Linked DNA regions of Homo sapiens: regions 1, 2, 3, 4 and 6 are each linked to region 5. The links are contacts of gene promoters, found by promoter capture Hi-C in human tissues and cell types (Jung and others, 2019). All regions are on one chromosome and are shown on one strand. Each heading gives the region's core, a stretch centred on a gene start or on the middle of the fragment in contact. The rest is flanking DNA. Distances are from core to core; before and after follow the strand shown.

Evidence for each region. Contacts are between HindIII fragments. The study calls those that stand out against the background at their distance.
Region 1: a contact is called between a fragment that was not itself captured here and the fragment with the promoter of POFUT2 in region 5, in 2 of the 25 tissues and cell types used here (H1 embryonic stem cells and thymus).
Region 2: a contact is called between a fragment that was not itself captured here and the fragment with the promoter of POFUT2 in region 5, in 2 of the 25 tissues and cell types used here (H1 embryonic stem cells and mesendoderm cells).
Region 3: a contact is called between the fragment with the promoter of PTTG1IP here and the fragment with the promoter of POFUT2 in region 5, in 2 of the 25 tissues and cell types used here (dorsolateral prefrontal cortex and lymphoblastoid cells).
Region 4: a fragment that was not itself captured here is called in contact with the fragment with the promoter of POFUT2 in region 5 in 1 of the 25 tissues and cell types used here (spleen).
Region 6: a fragment that was not itself captured here is called in contact with the fragment with the promoter of POFUT2 in region 5 in 1 of the 25 tissues and cell types used here (spleen).

What each region holds. Positions count from the first base shown.
Region 1 is chr21:45,003,330-45,006,746 of GRCh38, reverse strand. PICSAR (P38 inhibited cutaneous squamous cell carcinoma associated lincRNA) reads left to right here and starts at 2,020. Exons shown (of 2, transcript NR_024089.2): 1 at 2,020-2,303. RefSeq lists an enhancer at 3,398-3,417. The HindIII fragment of the contact is 7,508 bases long and covers 1-3,417 here.
Region 2 is chr21:45,576,510-45,579,659 of GRCh38, reverse strand. No RefSeq gene overlaps it. Among named protein-coding and RNA genes, the nearest start is that of LINC01694, 16 kb to the left of the region's middle. RefSeq lists an enhancer at 220-721. The HindIII fragment of the contact is 5,985 bases long and covers 1-3,150 here.
Region 3 is chr21:44,871,921-44,875,339 of GRCh38, reverse strand. It overlaps PTTG1IP (PTTG1 interacting protein), which reads left to right and starts at 1,650. Exons shown (of 6, transcript NM_004339.4): 1 at 1,650-1,838. The coding sequence starts at 1,724. RefSeq lists enhancers at 693-1,370, 1,528-2,028, 2,029-2,529 and a silencer at 1,287-1,936. The HindIII fragment of the contact is 14,261 bases long and covers 1-3,419 here.
Region 4 is chr21:45,627,741-45,631,392 of GRCh38, reverse strand. No RefSeq gene overlaps it. Among named protein-coding and RNA genes, the nearest start is that of PCBP3, 14 kb to the left of the region's middle. The HindIII fragment of the contact is 3,110 bases long and covers 1-3,009 here.
Region 5 is chr21:45,286,460-45,289,952 of GRCh38, reverse strand. It overlaps POFUT2 (protein O-fucosyltransferase 2), which reads left to right and starts at 2,058. Exons shown (of 9, transcript NM_133635.6): 1 at 2,058-2,212. The coding sequence starts at 2,082. LINC00205 (long intergenic non-protein coding RNA 205) reads right to left here and starts at 1,901. Exons shown (of 3, transcript NR_026943.1): 1 at 1,709-1,901; 2 at 515-602. RefSeq lists an enhancer at 717-1,447 and a silencer at 1,602-2,131. The HindIII fragment of the contact is 23,447 bases long and covers 1-3,493 here.
Region 6 is chr21:45,657,168-45,660,655 of GRCh38, reverse strand. All of the region lies in intron 1 of PCBP3 (poly(rC) binding protein 3), which reads right to left. Among named protein-coding and RNA genes, the nearest start is that of PCBP3, 15 kb to the right of the region's middle. The HindIII fragment of the contact is 6,952 bases long and covers 1-3,488 here.

The sequences.
Region 1 (3,417 bases), core at 801-3,300, 280 kb after region 5:
AATTATTCGATGGCCACTAAGCTAAGCGAGCAGAGACTTCAGTGGGCACACATGATAAAGAATATAGATTCGACAGAATTTGTCCAGAAATCACTAAACAAATAACAACAATAACAAGTAGAAACAACAAACTCGGGGAAGGGAAGAGAATTTGATTTCTAGAATTACAACATTCTATTATATTAAATGTCCAGTTTTCAAAAAAGAGTTTTAGAGATATACAAAGAAATTTTAAGAAGTCTCAAACATGGGGAAAAAAGCAAACAATAGAATCTGTCCCTGAGAAAGCCCAGAGATTAGAGTTACGGACAAAGACTTTAAATCAGTTGCTTTAAATAGGTCCAAAGAACTAAAGGAAACTATGTATAAAGAGCTAAAAGAAAGTATGAGAACAGTGTATCACCAAGTAGAAAATACAACAAAGAGATGTAAATTATTTCTTTAAAAAAATTCTGGAGGTGAAAAGTACAATAACTCAAATGAAGCTTTCATTGTAGGGGCTCACCAGAAATTTGAGCAGGCAGAAGAATGGACAAACTAGAAGACAGGTCAGCCTGTCCAGCTTGAGAAACAGAACAGCAGCGAAAACAACATGAATGATGAAAAATGAACAGAGACCTTCAGAGACCTCCGGGACACCATCAACCACACAAACACACACATCATGAAGTCCCACAAGGAGAGGAGACAGAGGCAAGGGAAGAAAGAATATTTGAAAAAATAACAGCCAACTCAACTTTGATGAAAACATTAATCTACACATCCTAGACGCTCAACAAACTCCAAGTAGAATAAACTCAGAGAGACCCACACCCAGACACATCATAATCAAGCTGTGAAACGTGAAAAGCGGAGAGAATTCTAAAAATAGCAAGAGAGAAGGGACTCATCTCATACAAGGAATCCTAAATAAGATTAACAGATGACTTATTAGAAGTCATGAGGCCAGAAAGCAGTAGGATGACATATTCAAAGTGCTGAAAGAAAAAGACTGCCAACCGAGAATTGTATAATAGTATAGCTATCCTTCAGGAGTGAAGGAGAAATTAATACAAATAAATAAACAAAATAAAATGATAAAATATAAATAAAATTATATAAATACCATGTATTATATATAAAACTATATATATTAAAAATTCTAAATATAAATACAATATATATGTGTGTGTGTATACATACTATATATCAATATTTTTAACAGTTTTTAAACAAAATCTGAGATAATTCATCACTAGCAGACCAGATAACTACAAGGAGGTCTACAGGCTGAAATGTAAGGACACTAGACAGCCACTCACACCAACTTGAAGAAATAAAAACATTAGTAAAGGTAACCATGGAAGTCAATACAGAAGACGGTGTGAATGTATTTTTTTAATCTTGTATGCTTAGACACAGAGTTACCATACGTGTTAAGCTGTTTTTATGGAGCTATAAATACCTGAGACCAGGTCATTTATAAGAGAAGAGGATTAAGTGGCTCACAGTTCTGCAGGCTGTACAGGAGCATAAGGGCTTCTTCCTCTGGGGAGGCCTCAGGAAACTCTTACTCATGGTGGAAGGTGAAGGGGGAGCAGGCGAGTCACGTGGTGAAAGCGGGAGCAGCGGGGTCGGGGAGGTGCCACACACGTTTAAACACCAGATCTCACAGGAACCCAGAGTGAGAGCTCACTCTTCACCACGGGGATGGCTCAAGCCATTCCTGAGGGAGTCACGCCCGTGACCTAAACACCTGCCCCCAGGCCCCACCTCCAACACGGGGGATGACAGTTCAACACGAGGCTTGGCAAGGACATGCGTTTAAACTGTATCACCATATAACCCGGGAAGTCTAGGCCCGGGCTGATACTCAGGACAACTGAAAACGGGTCCGCACAAAACTTGTGAATCAATGTTGATCACCGCGTTATTCATCATAGCCAAAAGATAAAATCAGCCCAAACGTCCGTCCGCTGATGGACAGGTTAAAAACGTGGCCCATCCCTGCAACGAAATGTGGCCCAGCCCCGAGAGGCATGAAGTGCTGACGGGTGGAGCGACACGGAGGAGCCTCAGAAACACCCACCATGCTGCTGCCCGGAAGAGGCAGGCACGGAAGGCCACGCGCTCTATGACCTCATCCATGGGAAACGCACAGAGGCGAGGCCTGCCCGGGGCTGGGAGGAGGGGGCACAGGAGCGCCGGCTGTGGGGATGGTGTTTCTCCCGCCGGGGGTGGCTGGCTCACCCTGGCACTGCACCGCAGTGGGGGTGGACCGGATGCCGCTGAACTGCCTGGACTTTCAAGAGGTAAATTCCGAGGTATGTGAATTACATTTTAATTTAAAAACATTCTGTGAGAGCCCATTTTTGTTAAAGATGCCATCTATGCTTAAAAGCCTGCACCAATGCCAGGCCGTACCACTGTGGGCCCTGGTGCCTCCACCCAGGAAGCAGTCCAGCTGCGAGCCCAGGCCAATGGGGCCAGCACGGATGGGAGGGGGCGTGGAGGGGCCCACAGATGCTGCGGCCCAGCCTGGCCTGAGAGGGGCCACCTCTGTGCTGGGGCTCCCAGGCACCCACCTCCCGTGGCAACTCCTGGCTCCGGTCCGCTCCCAGCCCTTCTGTGGCTTTGGAGGCTGAATCTGCCTGCATCTGCCATTGATTTCCAATTCCAAGGATGTTGTGTTTACAGTGTAGTGAGATGGGTTTGTGTTTCTGCAGGAGATTCTAGAAGCCAGACCTCGGAGTGGGGGAGGTGCTAGGCCTCCCTCCCACCTGGATAACCTGACCCGGAGCCTGGGGAAGCTGGCTCGGCACCCCCAGCCCTGACCTCTCCTCGTGGGCCTGGCACGGCAGGCTCTGGGCACAGCCAGGACCCCCAGGGCCTCAGTCTAGCCCCTCATTTTCCAAGGAGGCAACCGAGGCCCAGCCAGGCTTTCAAGGCTGGGCAGAGCCAGCCTGGAACTCAAGTCCCCAACAACTCCCAGTCATGGAATGTTGTACAAGAGGATTCTGGCAGCCAACCCTGACATCTTTAAAAATGTTCTTTCTGGCCCTTAACTACTGGGGCACCACAGTTCCTCGGCTGTCTGTCTTTGTGCTGGGCTGTGCCTGGCTTTGTCTGTAGCTGTCAGTCCTATTTTGTCCGCTAGGAACAAGGCCAGGGCAGCCTCTGTGATCCCCTCGAGCTGGCCAGTCTTCCCTGACCCTTCCCTCTCGGCCCCTGGCCTTGCTGTAGTCATGTCCATGGACACCTCCTGCCCACCCTGGCGGGCACCACTGTGTGGACACAGTCCTGGGAGGGGTGGGGGGCACCACTTTGGGAACGGAGGGTCTGAACTCTGCCCTGTCTTTGAGCCTTTGTTTTCCTTGTGTGCAGACGAGTGCTCCAGCCAGGTCCTCTCCAAAGTCTCGGCCCCCTGCCTGGTGCAAT
Region 2 (3,150 bases), core at 502-3,001, 290 kb before region 5:
ATCTCAGGGGCATCCGCATCCCAGGGGCACCTCCACCCCAGGGGCGCCTGCATCCCAGGGGCACCCCCATCCCAGGGGCACCTGCATCCCAGGTGCACCCCCATCCCAGGGCACCGGCATCCCAGGGCCACCCGCATCCCAGGGGCACCCCCATCCCAGGGGCACCCACATCCCAGGGCTGCCCGCATCCCAGGGGCACCCCCATCCCAGGGGCACCCCCATCCCAGGTGCACCTGCATCCCAGGGCTGCCCGCATCCCAGGGGCGCCCCCATCCCAGGGGTACCCGCATCCCAGGGCCGCCTGCATCCCAGGGGCACCCCCATCCCAGGGGCACCCGTGTCCCAGGGCCACCCGCATCCCAGGGGCGCCTCCATTCCAGGGGCACCCCCATCCCAGGGGCACCCCCGTCCCAGGGCCGCCCACGTCCCAGGGGCGCCCGCATCCCAGGGGTACCCCCATCCCAGGTGTACCCGCATCCCAGGGCTGCCCTCATCCCAGGGGCACCCCCATCCCAGGGCCACCGCATCCCAGGGGTACCCGCATCTCAGGGGCACCCCCATCCCAGGGGTACCTGCATCCCAGGGCCACCCGCATCCCAGGGGCACCCGCATCCCAGGGGTGCTGTGCACAAGAGGTGACCCTCTCCTCCCCCGGAAGCACTCCTCTCCAGGAACTGCAGGCCAGGGTGGAGGGAACCCTGTCTGGATTGGGAGCGGGGCAGGGGGAACCCTGTCTGGATTGGGAGCGGGGCGGGGGGAACCCTGTCTGGATTGGGAGCGGGGTGGGGGGAACCCTGTCAGGGCAGGGAGGGACCAGGGCTGGGAATGCACATCGTGGCAGCTGGAGTCCTGATTCGAGTGGAGTTTGGCAGAGACACCCTGAAGACGCAGCACTTGAGTGCAGAGCTCCAGGCTGAGTGGGAGGGATGTGGGTGCAGGGTGGTGATTGGACATCCAGCCAGTGCCAGGGAAAAGTCCCATCAAAGCGACAGACTCTTTGTACAAACTGGCTCAGGGCCAGCTCAGGTTGAAAGACAAACAAGAGGTGAGCCCCAGGCTGCCCAGGCAGGCGGGTCTGATGCAGAGCTCGCGGGTGTCTGGCATCCAGGCACTCGGGCCAGAACCTGCAGCAGGTTCAGAGAGAGACAGCTGCGACGCGTCCTCACACCTCCACCAGGAAATCGATTCTGGGGTTCGGAAAGGAGGAGTGGGCCTGCGACAGCTACCCACACAGGAGCCCCCGTGGCTAAGGACGGGCCAGAGTCACACGGCGAGGACACTCACCCACCTCTGCCTGCTGGCCTCGCTGCCTGCCTGGGGCGCGTGCAGGTCCCGAGTGGAGACCACACCAGCCCCAGTCCCCCAGGCCCCTCCCAGGCTCCCTGAAGGGCAGTGAAGGCTCAGGAACTTTCCAGGCCATGCCAAACCTTCTTCCCCACCTTGGGTGTGAGACCACGCACCTTCCCCAAAAGCTAGTGCAGACATCACGGTCACCACTCACATGACCCCAAGTGCAGACTTGGTCACTGTCACCACTCACCTGACCCTGGGGAGTCCAAGCACGTGCAAAGCTCACCTCCAGCCCCATGGCGGGGCCTGGCTGTGCCCTAGCTCCAGGCATCCAGGGTCACGTGGGCAGGATCTGAGGGTCAGATCAGCAACCCTCCACCCACCTGCCACGGGGCTGTGCAATGGCCAGCTGTCGAGGCCCTTTCCTAAGCCGGGATGCACCCCACGCAGCCCACCCGGGCCCCCTGAGCAGGTGGATTGTCCTGCCTCTCCTGCCTGTCACCCGGTGGTCCTCCTGCCCTGGTTCTCACCACCGGAGTCGCCAAGCTCCTCCAGGTCCTTCAGGGGCCCCCAGTAGCCACCTCCCTAGTCACCCCCAGCCTCCCCCAGGCCAACTCAGAGCCCACAACACTGTTGTAATTACTTTTAAATCATAAGAAAAGAAAAAAGAAATTTTAGATCAAATAAAATGTTTTCATATATAATATTAGCACATTTGGGCTTCTTATCAACACAGACGTAAAACAGGATTTTTGATGTTTTGTGGAGGGAGGGCCCACAGAGGCAGAGTGCTTGCCCCATGGCATCTTGTGTCCTGGCCGTTGGGCCACGTGGCTTCCCAGCTGGGCAGGACCCTCACCCTCTAACTCCTGGGGCTCACAGCCTTGGCAACTTTGAAACCTCATGGGTCCAATTGAGCGTCTGGATTCTTGTTGAACGGAGTTCAGGAAGGACTTTCTGATTCCGTGAAATCTTGCGGATCCGGCACAGCTGCCCTCTTCTTCCTGCCGAAAAGTGCCAATCACTCCCTGGTGTGGTGGAGCTGCCAGCCAGCTGGGTGGCTTGTGGCCCAGAGCCAGCAGCACTAAACAGAGCCCCCCACCCTGGGAGTGCCTGGGGGGCTAGTGAGGAGGCGTCCTCAGCAGGGGTGTCTGCACAGCTGAAGCCCCTCCAAGGAGTGCCCAGGCAGTGCCACGTGGTCCAGAGAGATGTAACCCCTGGGCCAGAAGCCATAAGAGGCAGGCAAGCACTGCTTCCTGCGAGGTGAGGGCTGCTCGCCCAGACCACTGCAGCCACTGGCAGGAAGGCACGGGCTGCCCTGTGTCAGGGGTGGGATGGTGCATGGGCCCGGGTCGCTCTGACGGGTCCTCCTCACCGTGAGAAGGGATGGCATCATGTGTTCAGAGGCGTGAATCAGTGTCAAGCATTGCTTGGTGCCGTGGCACGCTTTCCTGTACAGCCCGAGGCTGTCTGGGGAGAGGTGGGAACTGACCTTTCGTCTCTCTCTGCAGCATCCCTTGCCACGGGCAGCTCCCCAGATGCCACCTCTTATTCCCGGCCCCTGGCCCTGCCCCAGGGGGAACTCAAGGGTTGTCTCACCCTCAAAATCGACCTGTAGGTTGATGGCCCCGAAGACCCATGGAAACCAGGAGCATACCCCAGGCAGCTTCAGCCTCATTTTGGAGGTTCCAGCTGAGCTGAGCCAGCAGCTGAACAAGCTCACAGGCCCCGCAGTGTCCTTCCCAGGTGGTTCCGGGGGGCGCACCTTTCCCTGGCAGGGACCGGGGGCTGGGTGGGGCAGAAGGACAGCCAGTGTCTCTGAAGAAGGAGAGAAGACTTTTATTGTCAACGAGAGGAAGA
Region 3 (3,419 bases), core at 401-2,900, 410 kb after region 5:
AAGAGAAACTGCTTTCCCCTTCTCCAAATCTGAAGGACAAAAAAGGTTGCAAACTTTAGCAAGACGAACAAAACCTTAACCTCGAAGGATAGTGTTAACCACACACCTGCAAACAGCTGACTCTTTGGAGAAATAACAAACGAAACTCTTGCCTTAAAACCAAGCCTCAACTCCAGCCCTATCAGGTGTGGACCTGGGTAGGCGGAACAGAGTCTGAACCTCAGCCCTGGGAGGCTGCCAGAGACCCCGGCCAGGTTCCCAGGCGGTCCGGTGAACCAAGGCCGCTCCGCGGGTGCCAGCGCTCCGAGTGCCAGAGAAGTGGCTCGGATCACAAGAGGCTGGCTTCGGAGCCATCTGCAGGCGCCCAAATCCCAACCTAAAATCACCACAGGGTCAGAATCTAATGTAAGGGGGGGTTATTCAAAGGCAGTTGGAGGCTGGCCCACCCGGAAACACCGGCTCCAGAGGAATGGAGTCCGCCCTCGGAAGCGGGGAGGGGAAGGGTGCCCTCGGGCAGGCAGAGGCGGAGGCTTTTAGCAGGACCGCGGCGTCCTTCCTACGAGGTGGGCGCAGTCCTCGCGTTTGATGGACGACGGGCAGTGCCTGCTTCAGGGAAGGGTGCGGCAGTCACGGTTTCCCGTCTTCTGGTCTAAGCAGTGCAGAAAACAGGGAAGTTCATCTACAAGGGTCATGAACTAAGAAGGCAGGAGGTTTCTGTCCCCGGCACCGGCGAATCCCGGACCCGAGAAAGGAGCTACGGGCGCACAGAAGCGGGCGGCCCCGGCTCTCGCGGGGCTTAAAGCGCGCAGTGTGTTCGGGTTCACACCTCTAAATGTATTTTTGCCATTTCTTAAGTAGCCTTAAAAATGTCCGTCACTATTTAGTCCTTTTATCAACCGAGGGGCCCGGAAGGCCGCAGCGAGGGCGTCGGCGAGAAGCCATGGAGGAGAAACGGCGCTTCTCTCGGGAGTTTAGGTGGCAGCTTCAGCAGCACACGTTTCAGCCCATTCTGGGGCCGTTTCTAGTGTGGTTAACGTACAAAAATAAACAAATCCCCTAAAAGTCCCACGCGGACATCGGCGGGAGCCCAGGGCCGGACGCCGCGGTGTGGAGCGAGGGCGCCGGCGCGGACTATGAGGGCCCACCGCGCCTCGTCCAGGGCTCACTTAAGAGCAGCGTGAGCAGCGCTTGGGACCGCCGTCCGGGACGCCCGCAGCCCTTTAGGATGGAGGCCACCGTGACCTCCGCCACCGAAGCACCGCGCTCCCCTAGTCCCCTCAGCCGGTCGCCGTTCCCCGCCGCGCAGGCGCAGGAGCCGCGGCGAGCCCCTCGGTCACGCCTCGCCCCTCGGTCACGCCTCGCCCCTCGGTCACGCCTCGCCCCTCGGTCACGCCTCGCCCCTCGGTCACGCCTCGCCCCTCGGTCACGCCTCGCCCATCCGCGCCGCGCAGGCGCACTGAGCCTCAGCCGCTCTCCTCGCTACCAGGCTCCTTTCCTCTATCGCGCAGGCGCACTGAACCTCAGCCGCGCCGGGAGGCGAGCCCGTTGGCGAGGGGCGGGGCAGATGGCGAGGGAGCGGGGCGAGCTGCTTTTTGAGGCTGCGCACTCGCATGGCCCCACCTCGCAGGTCCACTTCCGGCGCCGCGGCTGTTCCGGGCGGAGACCGCTTGTGCTGGAGTCGGAGTTGTAACGCTCCACTGACTGATAGAGCGACCGGCCGACCATGGCGCCCGGAGTGGCCCGCGGGCCGACGCCGTACTGGAGGTTGCGCCTCGGTGGCGCCGCGCTGCTCCTGCTGCTCATCCCGGTGGCCGCCGCGCAGGAGCCTCCCGGAGCTGGTGAGGGCGCCGGGGCGGGCGGGGCCGCGAAGGGGGCGGGGCGGCTGGTGGGTCCAGGTCGGGGTCGGGGTCGGGGTTTCGGCCAGGGCGCTGGGCTCGGCGGGCGGCCTGGGCCCACGGTCGCAGGCAGCGCCCCGACGGAGGCTCCTCGAGGGTCACGCCCGTTTGGCGGCCGCGGGAGCTGCCGTCGCGGCTGGGGCGCGGGCAGGGGAAGAGCCGTCTTTGTCTTTGTCTTTGTTTTGTCCAGTCGCTGCGGCCGCTCCTCGCGCGTGGCCTCGGGTTGGCCCTCGCCCGGCAGGCGGGACGCTTGGCACCTGCGGCCTCCCTTAGCCTCACTGCGACCCCAAACAGCACTCCTCGGGTTCGATCCCGAGCCGGGAAGCCGGCTCACGACGTGTTCGAGGTCGCACAGCTGGTCGGGGGCAGGCCGGGATGGCGGCCGCAGGCCCCTGCAGGGTGATGGGGCCGCGGCCGGTGTGTCTCTACAGCCGCCGGCGTTCACGCCGCCACTCCCTCCCGGCCGCAGTTCCACGCACAGCAGCGAACGCTCGCACTTATGCCTTAGAAAGGAAGGCGTCCCCAAAGCCAGGCTGTAGCATCTGATTTTGAAGCAAGCTGATTGCGGTTCTACGCTGTCCAGACGCGCAGGTGGCATTCTTCATCGTTTATCCCGTCTGCACCAGGCCCTGCGGCCACAGTGGTGACCGACAGCCAGAGCTCCTATCCAAGAGGAGCTGAGTCCCCGGGAGGCTGACCAAGAAAGAAGCAGTGAGGGCGCGGGGGCTGGGGGAGGAAAGTGCATGACAGGAGACTCAGAGTTCCAGAAACCGGCAGTGTTTATAGAGGGTGGCTTCCTGTGGGGCTGGGCCTCCAGGGCCTGGTGGGCTGCGGGAAAATCCAGCAGGTTCTAAGCTGGAGAGTGTCATGGTTGGACCTGTTTCACAATGTCATGCTGGCTTCCGTGTGTGGAGTTTCCAGGTGACCACTAGTGGTGGGGAATAGTGCCACCTTAACTTCAGTTTCCTGACCCTTACAATTAGGGTTGACCTGGGCCCAGCTTGAGGGGCTAATACTTTTCTCAGCTCTTGTTAGCCCAGGCTCTGTCAGTGTCTGTTTAGCATAGTAGAGCACCTTTTCTTTTTGTGACCTTATGGAATGTTTATTCCGATGCAGGATTATTTGTGTTTCTTCTTACCTGCCTCCAAGTGTGCTTAGGGTTTGTGACGTTAGCAATGCAGCTGCCTTGAAGTTTGTTAGTCAAGGAGGCCAGTGGGACTGTACTGGGAACTTTTGGCCCAGATTGAGTTCTAAGCGCAAATGTGCAGTGAATACGTTTCCACAAACAGAATGGGCGTCTGCAGGCAGAGTGTGTGATTCACTGGCAACTGTATCAGTGGCTCGGGGGTGTGTTTGCTTGCATTGTGAAAGCGGGAGTGTCAGGAAAACAACCATGAGGTTTTGTTTGACTGTGATTCCTCCTGCTCTGCACTGCTGAAGGGTGCAGAGATGGGTGTGGACGAGTGGAGTGGACAGTGTGGGAATTAATCCGGAACTGCCATTCGGTGTGTCAGCTGAAAAGCC
Region 4 (3,652 bases), core at 205-2,704, 340 kb before region 5:
CAATGCTGTGCCATTTCTGGGGTCGACCTTCAAATTCTTCCCTCTGGGATTGCTCACTCTGGGAAAAGCCAGCCAGCACATAAGATCCAACTGTGCTGGCCTTACCATGCCGTGAGGAAACCCCAGCTGGACAAAGGGAGGGGCTTCATAGAAGGAGAGATCCCTGCAGCAGATACAGCGTCCCAGTGAAGAAGCTTTCAGACGATTCCAGCCTCGGCCACCATCTGACCGCGTCCCAGTGAAGAAGCTTTCGGACGATTCCAGCCTCGGCCGCCATCTGACCGCATCCCAGTGAAGAAGCTTTCGGACGATTCCAGCCTCGGCCGCCATCTGACCGCGTCCCAGTGAAGAAGCTTTCGGATGATTCCAGCCTCGGCCGCCATCTGACTGCACCCATGTGAAGGACCAACATGAGAACAGAACACCGGGCTGATCCTGCCGGCCCCCAGCACAGTGAGAGATAACACATTGGGGTTTCAGGCCACTAAGTTCGTAGGTGGCTCCTTATGCTGCATTAAACATTTATGACAGTATTTCACAAAGCACCTGCCTTGCACCCAGAGACCTCTTCAAGGTAAAGAAGGTCTGATGACGGGCACTTGACCATGGAATTCACTGGCGTTACCACAGACCCATCACCCAGAAGCAGTCAGCCTACCAGTGAAGGGAGACTTGCGAATGGCCCGGCATGGGCGGCAGCTCTAAGAAAGCCTGGGCCCGTCTGGCCCAGGAACTGCACTCCAGGACGTAGGATCCGTGCTGAGCCCATGGTCAGGAAATGATCCCGTGTCCCTGGGACCTTGCATACAAAGCTCTGAGGACCCCAGGGACAGAAGCCAGTTTGGCCCCTCCCCAGCACACACGGTGAACGGCTTGCATGGCTGTGCTTCCTGGGGCTGAAGTCTGAGGCTCTCTTGGACTGGAACCCTTGACCCCCTGGTTGAGGGGAGGCTCCTGCCAGCGTACACAGGTTGCTGCAAGACTAGAAGCCATGACCACCATTTGGCCACTTTGGCCTCCTCGTGCCAGTGGGCAAGCCACACATGCACTTACCGTACCTGTGAAAGGGCCAGGCTCTGAACACCATGGAGATCTCTGGGGTTGGGGGGGTGCCAGGCTCAGAACACTGTGGAGATCAGGATGAGGGGGCCAGGCTTCGAACATCATGGAGATGGTGGGGGCCAGGCTCCGAAAACGGTGGAGATAGGGGTGGGGGGGCCAGACTCTGAACAACATGGAGATGGGGAGTGGGCAGGCTCTGAACACCGTGGAGATCGAGGCTTGCTTCTGTACCACGGGGCCAACGAGGGGAATGCCTGCAGCTGACAGCTTGCTGGGGCACTTCGGGATCTGCACTGAGTGGCAGCTGTAATCACAGCAACCATGGCCCATCCAATGCAGGATGACCGAGGCCTGGGTGCCATGGGGCGAACAGTTCAGACCAAGGCTCAGCTGAGGGAGGCCAGTCTAGGATGTGGGGAGGGCAAGGAGAGGATAGTATGGGGTTTGGCCCCAGGATTAGCGGTGTCAGCAGGGACCATAGCCTGATGCGGCAGCCCTTTTAATGGCTTTTCAGTAGATTACAACCAGAGAACCCCTGGAGAAATTGCACTTGCACCACCCCTCAGGAACCAGGGCTGTCCATTCCCGGGTGAGACACGTGGGGTGGGCTGTCATCGGTTCCAGGGCCATCCATTCCCAGGTGAGACACGCAGGGTAGGCTGTCATCAGTTCCAGGGCCATCTGTTCCTGGGTGAGACTTGCGGGGTGGACTGTCTCGGGTTCCGTTCAGGTCACTGAGGCTGGCATGGTCGTCTTGCTGTCGGGCTTGAGCAGCGATTGCGAACGTCCCTCCCGGCTCCTGCATGCACGTCTCGGGTTCCGTTCAGGTCACTGAGGCTGGCATGGTCGCCTTGCTGTCCGGCTTGAGCAGCCATTGCGAACATCCCTCCCGGCTCCTGTGTGCACAGCTAGGTGGCTGCTGTTGCTCCTGCAGCCATGGCCAGTTCCTGGGTCCCTGGAGAGCTGTTTCTGGGCCCACCCATCAGGTATCAACAAACCCAACAACACCCAGCTCCGATAGCGCTGGAGGCCTCTTGCTTAGTTTCTCAGGGCTCTCTTATTGCCTGTGATGGGGGAGATGCATCGGAAGCTGTCTGCCACCTGCACGCAGAGTCTGAGGTGAAATGAGGCCAGCAACAGGAACTGGCATGTCCGCCCTGTCCCACTCCTCTCCCTGCTCCACTGATCAGAGATGCAGGAGCTTCACGCAGTCCCTGAGGAGAAGCATGGAGCCAGACGTCAGCCGGCAGTGGACAGTGACCTCCCTGAGAGTCACCTTCCTCCCTTTCTTGCCTCAGTCCCCTCTTCCCACTCCTGTTTCCTGGGATTGCACTCCCCAGAAAAATACAGGCACAAGACTTTTGCCTCAGGTTCTGTTTGCTCAGGGAGCTAGGCTAACAATATACAAACACCATAATAAAGTGTTGGCTATCCAGCCTTGTTCAAAAGAAAGAAAGATACAGAATCATGGTGTCGGAAAACAGAGACAATTTGACTTCCTCTCTTCCTATTTGAATATGCTTTATGTCTTTCTCTTGCCAATTGCCCTGGCCAGAACTTCCAATACTATGTTGAATAGGAGTGGTGAGAGAGGGCATCCTTGTCTTGTGCCAGTTTTCAAAGGGAATGCTTCCAGCTTTTGCCCGTTCACTATGATATTGGCTGTGGCTCTGTCATAAATAGCTCTTATTATTTTGAGATATGTTCTGTCGATACCTAGTTTATTGAGAGTTTTTAACATGAAGGATGTTGAATTTTATCAAAGGCCTTTTCTGCATCTTTTGAGATAATCATGTGGTTTTGTCTTTGGTTATATTTATGTGATGGATTATGTTTATTGATTTGCATATGTTGAACCAGCCTTGCATCCCAGGGATGAAGCCGACTTGATCATGGTGGATAAGCTTTTTGATGTGCTGCTGGATTTGGTTTGCCAGTATTTTATTGAAGATTTTCACATCGATGTTCATCAGGGATATTGCCCTGAAGCTTCCTTTTTTTGTTGTGTCTCTGCCAGGTTTTGGTATCAGGATGATACCAAAAGAGTTAGGGAGGATTCCCTCCTTAAATTTCGAAAACCCCATCGTCTCAGCCCAAAATCTCCTTAAGCTAATAAGCAACTTCAGCAAAGTCTCAGGATACAAAATCAAAGTGCAAAAAACACAAGCATTCCTATACACCAATAATAGACAAACAGAGAGCCAAATCATGAATGAACTCCCACTCACAATTGCTACAAAGAAAATAAAATACCAAGGAATACAGCTAATAAGGGAAGTGAAGGACCTCTTCAAGGAGAACTACAACCCACTGCTCAAGGAAATAAGAGAGAACACAAACAAATGGAAAAACATTCCATGCTCATGGATAGGAAGAATCAATATCATGAAAATGGCCATACTGCCCAAAGTAATTTATAGATTCAATGCTATTCCCATTAAACTACCATTGATATTCTTCACAGAATTAGAAAAAAAAACTTTAAATTTATTTTTTCTTTCTTTCTTTTTTTTTTTTTTGAGACGAGTCTTGCTCTGTCACTTAGACTGGAGTGCAGTGGCGTGATCTCGGCTCGCCACAACCTCTGCCT
Region 5 (3,493 bases), core at 809-3,308:
CCAGGAAGGGACGGGGATTGGACATGGCTCATTATACCCACCTCCCTTTGGAGTTCAGGTGCAGCTGACCAGACTGACAGCAGACTCCATAGCAGCAAGACACCAAGTTCCAATCTGACGCTGGTATAGCATCACGTGACAACAGGCCCTCAAAGTATCAATGTATTTTACCCCAAAATATATCTCTTTGACAAATTTTGAAATGGCCCCGCAAAGCGGTGTCTTGTGGGGAAATTCATATTCTGTAGACTCCCCTTCCCTTTCCAGCTCTTTTTCTGATCCTGAGGAGACTGGCTGAGAGTCTAGTGCCTTTTGAAGGTCTGAATAGGAAACATTTGCCATGTATTGCCTCTGAGGGCGGACACCTATGAGATTTCATCCACATAATAAGGACCTCGGTCTCCACAGCCCCTTCTCTTAACCCAGACACTCCTTTCTATTGATTCCAAGCCTTCAGATAGTAACTTCTTTCAACCAACTGCCAATCAGAAACATCTTTGAATCCACCTATTACCTGGAGGCCTTTCCACTTGGAGTCGTCCTGACTTTCTGGATCAATCCAATGCACACCTCACATGTACTGACTGATGTCTTATGTCTCCCTGAAATGAATAAAACCAAGCAGTAAAACAACCGCCTTGGGCCAAGTTCTCAGGACGTCCTGAGGCTGTGTCATGGGTCATATTTGGCTCAGAATAAATCTCTTCAAGTATTTTACAAAGTTTGGCTTTTTTTGTAAACAATAGGCAGATATAAATTCCATTTGCTAATTTTTTTAAATGCTGTGTCTTGGTTCATGAAAGACATTGGTCTGTGGTTCTACTGTCTGGTGATGTCTGACTTTGCTATCAAGGCAATGCTGGCCCATACATCGAGCAGGGAAGTGCCCCTCCTCGTCCATCGTCTGAGTGGCTGGATTCCTATTATTTCTTCTCTAAGTAGGATTCACCAGCTTGGCCCTCTGGGCCTGGAATTTTCTGTGTGAGAAAATTTGATAACAAATTGATCTCAAATTTAACAGATAATAAGCATTAGTATTTTCTTTTTTGGTAACTGGCATCCTTCAAGAAATTCGTCCAATTATACCGTTTTGGGGGCTGCCTGCACTAGAGTCAGCGTGGCGTCCCCTCAGAAGGCCGGGTTTGCCAGCGCCGCGCCCCAAGCCAGGTCGGTCGGCCAGTGCTGGTGCCCTCGGGGAACAGCGGGAGCTGCCTGGAGGCTGCGGGGAGCGGCGGCGGCGGGCACGCACCTGGCTCCCGAAACCAGACCTTTAATAACGCCTCGCAGAAGGGGCGGGGTGGGAGGTTGGCAGCGCAGGGGCGGCAGCCCCGGATCCCCCCAGGTCTCCAGATCACCCCATCGAGCCCCGCGCCCTAGCAGCACAGTCCCTCCAGGGCTCCTTGGAGGGCCAGGCCTCAGCCCGGGTGCCCCCTCGCCGGGGCTCCAGGGTTGGGGGCACCCAGGAGGCCGCAGGTGTGGAGCTCGACGGCGCCCCCCGACTAGAAACCCAGGCTCTCATGCGCGGCTCCCGCCCCGACCCCAGCTCCAGAGGGGCGAGAGCACCCGGCGCCGACCCCGTCTACGGACCCCCTCCTCCGCCCCGCCCCCGCCGTCCAGCCCTCCCGCCCCTACCAGCCCCGGGCCTCCTCCCCACGGACCCGCCCCGCGCCACCAGCCGTCAGCCCTCCCGGCCCCCAGTCTCGCGTACCCTCCCCACTGGCCTGCAGGGTCCACCGACTTCCCGACCCCGGGACCTCCCGACCCCCGGACCTCCCGGCCTCGCGGACCCTCAGGAGCCCCTGCGTGGGCTGCGCCAGGGCGCCCGCGACAGCACCGCCGCGAACCACAGCCACGGCCTCCGGGTCTGCAATGGAACCTCTAGCCGCTGCGGTCAGGAGGGCGGAGACTCTGCGCACGCGCAGTTCCCCCTCCCGCCCCTGCTTGCCGGTGATGGCGCATAACGCATGCGCGGGGAGGGCGGAGCTGGGCGTTGCCGTGGCTACTGGGAACGCATTTCACGGGGGCGGGGCGTGGTTCCGGGGCGGGGCGCGGCCGCCGGAAGTGCGTGGCCGCCCGGGGCCATGGCGACACTCAGCTTCGTCTTCCTGCTGCTGGGGGCAGTGTCCTGGCCTCCGGCTTCTGCCTCCGGCCAGGAGTTCTGGCCCGGACAATCGGCGGCCGATATTCTGTCGGGGGCGGCTTCCCGCAGACGGTAAACGCGCGTCCACGGTGCCAACGCTGGGGTTCCAGGACCGGGCAGGGTCAGAGGATGGGATGGGGGCGGGGCGGGGTCAGGGGCCAGGGAGATGGGATGGGGTCAGGGGCAGGCCCACGGGATGGAGGGTGGTCCGGGGCCAGGGAGATGGAATGGAGCGGAGTTATGGGGCAGGGGCCAGGGGGATGGGATGGAGCGGGGTCAGGGGGCAGGGGTCAGGGGAATGGGATGGGGTCAGGGTTCTGGGGCAAGGAATGTGGCGGAGTAAGGGGCCAGGGTGATGGTATAGGGGCAGGGGGCAGGGGCCAGGAGGGATGGGATGGGGGCGGGGCAGGGATCAGGGCGATGGGATGGGATGGGGGCGGGGCAGGGGCCAGGGTGATGGGATGGGATGGGGGCGGGGCAGGGGCTAGGGCCAGGAGGGGTGGGATGGGATGGGGGCAGGAACGGGGGCCCGAGGGATGGGATGGGGGCGGGGCGGGAGCCGGGGCCAAGAAGGATGGGACGGGGACGGGACAGGGGCAGGGGCAGGGGCAGGGGCCGGGGCCGGGCTGGAGTCTGGGGGATGGGATGGGGCGGGGGCTGGGGGCAGGGTCGGGCCAGCGGGTTGGCTGTAGTCGAGGCTGCGTCACTGCGGCCCGGGTCTGCAGGCGGGGTCGTCTGCGAGGCCCGGGGCGCAGCCTCGGGAGCCCAGGAAGGGGGCCGGGTTGCTCAGGCTGAGCGTGGGCTGGCTCCGGAGGCCCCTGCAAGTGACACGGGTCCAGGCCTGGGTGTGCGGAGCCGGGAGTCAGTGCCGGGCGGGCGCTCCGCAGTGAATTCTCAGGGCCAAGACGAGCTTCGCGGCCGCCCTGTGGCTGTGGGATCTCCAAGCGGACCCCGGGAGGGGCCTGGACGCAGAGGTGTGCACGGCCCCTCGTGGCGTTCGCAGGCCTGGGCGCTGCACGCAGCTTCACTCGCGACGATGGGAGTATGGAAAACCAGCGCAGAGCAGGGAAAGGAGAGCGCCAGGGACAGGGTTTCTGTAGCCCTTGGGGACTTGTCTGTGCCTTGGGGACTTGTCTGTGCCTTGGGGCGCTTTGTGTCCTTCCTCTAGGGCAGTGATCTTAAAGTGTGTCCTGGATCTCTGAGCTTTTGTAGCCGTTTTAATAGTAGTACCAGAGTATTATACGCCTTTTTCACTTCTCATGAATGCACTGTGGAGTTTTCCTAGAAACCACTTGATCTGTGATGTCACAACAGATTGAATGCAGAAACGGGTATGGGAATCCAGCTGTCACC
Region 6 (3,488 bases), core at 408-2,907, 370 kb before region 5:
ATCCAAACTAAACTGTTACAAATTGCCAGTAGTAAGACCCCAAGTAACCCCTAAGAAAATAAAAAATAGTAAAATAAATGAAAATATCTATTTAACACAAAGTCAGTAATGGAGTAATAGAAAATTCAAAAAGACATTGCATAGAGAAAACAAGAAGCAAAATGGCTGGCATAAATTTCACCTTGTCAAAATTGCATTAAATGTAAATGGATTAAACATTCCAATATAAGCACAGAAATTGTCTAAATGGATTTTTTAATGATTCAGTTATATGTAGTATACAAGAAAGACACTTAAATACAACGAACAAATAAGTTAAAAGCATGGAAAAATATATACAATGCAAACAGTAACCAAAGGAGAGCTTGAATGGCTATATTAACATCAGAAAAAAACGGTCTTTAATACAAAAATTGTTATTACAGACAAAGAATATTTTATAACTATAAAAAGGTCAATTCATCAAGAAGCTCTAACAATTATATACATATATATACATATATATATGTGTGTGTGTATACATATAAAATAAAGCCCCAGAATGCATGAAACAAAAAATTAAGAGAAAAAAGGGAGAATCAGACAGTTCAACAGTAACAGTTGGAAACTTCAAAAGTCCGTTTTCAATACAGGATGGAATGCAAGACAGAAAATCAGAAAGAAAACAAAAGATTTAAACAATACTAATAAACTAATTAGACCTAGCAGACATTTATAGAATTCTCCATTCAAAAAGCAGAAAACACATTATTCTCAAATACACATGGAACATTCTCTAGAACAGACCAGGTGTTAGCCAAGAAAATAAGTCCCAAAATTTTAAAGGATTGAAGTAATATAAAATATGTTCCCCAACCACAAGGGAAAAAAATAGAAATCAGTAACAGATAAAAATTTAAGAAATTCAAAAGTTTGTGGAAATTTAACAATACACTGCTAAATAACCAGAGTCAAGGGAGAAACCACAAGGGAAATTAGAAAATACTTTGAGATCATTAAAAATGAGGCCAGGCACAGTGGCTAACGCCTGTAATCCCAGCACTTTGGGAGGCCATAGCGGGAGGACTGCTTGAGCCCAGGAGTTCGAGACCAGTCTGAGCAACATGACAAGACACTGTGTCTCACAAAAAATTAAAAAATTAGCCAGGTGTAGGGGAATGCACCTATAGTCCCACCTACTCAGGAGGATGAGGTGGGAAGATCGTTTGAGCTCAGGAGACTCAAAGTTGAGGCTGCAGTGAGTTGTGATGGCACCAATGCACTTTAGCCTGGGTGTCAGACCAAGGCCCTGTCTCAAAAAAAAAAAAAAAAAAAAAAAGGAAAGTAAAAGAAAGCACAACATATCAAAACTTATGAAAGGCAGTAAAAGCAGTTCTTACAAAATTATAGCTGTAAACACCTATGTTAAAAGAGAAATATCTCAAATCAATAACCTAACGTTCTACCTTAAGAAATCAGAAAAAGAGCCAACTAAACCTTTGCAAGTGGAAGAAAGAAAAAAACAAATATTCGAGCAAAAATGAAACAGAAAATAGAAAAACAACAATGAAACCAAAGTTTTTTTTTTAAAAAAAGACCAATGAAACTGACAAACTTTTATCTAGAATGACCAAGAAAAAAAGAGGGAAGACTCAATTTACTAAAATCAGAAAGAAAACTACCAACCTTACAGAAATAAAAGGACTATAAAGAAATATTATGAACAACTGATGGCCAATAAATTAGATAACCTAGGTGAAATTCACAAATTCCTAGAAAGACAGAAACTATCAAAACTTAAAAAACAGTACATCTGAAAAAAACCTAAAACAAGTAAAGATATTCAGTATTTTAAAAATTTCCCACAAGGAAAAATTAGAAACAGATGGCTTCACTATTAAATTCTATCAAACATTTAAAGAATGAACACCAATCCTTCACAAGGAGAAACGGACACTTGCCAACTCATTCTATAAGGCCAGTATTACCCTAATACCAAAACCAGACAAAGAGATCACAAGAAAACTATAGATTAACATGTCTTAAGAATACAAACTTAAAAATCCTTAACAAGGCTGGGTGTGGCGGCTCATGTCTGTAATCCCAGCATTTTGGGATGCCAGGGCAGGCAGAGCACTTGAGGTCAGGAGTTCAAGACCAGCCTGGCCAACATGGTAAGACCCTGTCTCAACTAAAAATTCAAAAATTAGCCATGCATGGTGGCACGCACCTGTCATCCCAGCTACTCAGGAGGCTGAGGCAGGAGAGTCGCTTGACTCCAGGAGGCAGAGGCTGCAGTGAGCTGAGATCGCACCTCTGCACTCCAGCCTGGGTGACAAAGTGAGACTCCATCTCAAAAAATCCTCAACAAAACACTTGCAAAACCGAATCCACCAATATATAAAAAGGATTATATGCCATGACAAGTGGGATTTATCTAGGGAATTCAAAGTTGGCTCAACATACAAAACTGAATCAATGTAATACATGACATTAATATAATAAAGGACAAAAATAACAGTATAGATGCAGGAAAAGCATCTGACAACATTCAACACGCTTTCATGATAATAACACTCAACAAAATAGGGATAGAAGGGAAATTCCTCAACCTAATTAAGGGCATCTATAAAAATTCACAGCTACCTATACTTACTGGTGAGAGGCTAAAAGCTTTCCCCCTAAGATAAGGAACAAACAATGATGTCCACCCTTGCCACAACAATTAAACATTGTGTTAAAGCTTATAACCAGGGCAATTACATGAGAAAAATTTTAAAAAGGCATGCAGATTAGAAGCAAAGAATTAAAAGTATCTATATCTGCAGATAATATAATCTTGCATATAAAAAATCCTCAGGAATCCACTAAAAAACTATTATAGCTACTAAATCCTATGCTCATGGATTGGAAAACTTAATATTGTTAACCTGACAATACTCCCCGAATTATCTACAGATTCAATTAATCCCCATCAAAATTCTACCTGCCTTTTTTTTTTTCCAGAAAGTGACAAACCAAACCTAAAAATCATATGAAAATGCAAGGGACCAGGAATAACCAAAATAAATAAAAAGACCAAAGTTGAAGGACTCACACTTTCCAATCTTAAAACTTACTACAAAGCTACAATAATCAAGACTGTGTGCTGCTGGCATAGAGAGAGACATATAGGTCCATGGAATAGAGTTGAGAGTTCAGAAATAAACCCATATTTTATGGTCAACTGAGTTTTGACAGAAGTGCTAAGGCCATTCAATAGGTAGTCTTTTGAACAAATGGTACTAGGACTAGACAGCCACAGGCAGAAGAATGAAGTTAAACTCCTCCTTCATACCATAGACAAAAATTAACTCAAAACGCACCAAAGACCTAAATTTCAGAGCTAAAACTATAAAACCCTTAGAATAAAACGGAGGTGTAAATCTTTGTGACCTAGGATTAAGCAATGTCTTAAATATGACAAAGCACAAGCAACAAAAGAAAAAAATAGATAAATGCAGTATTAC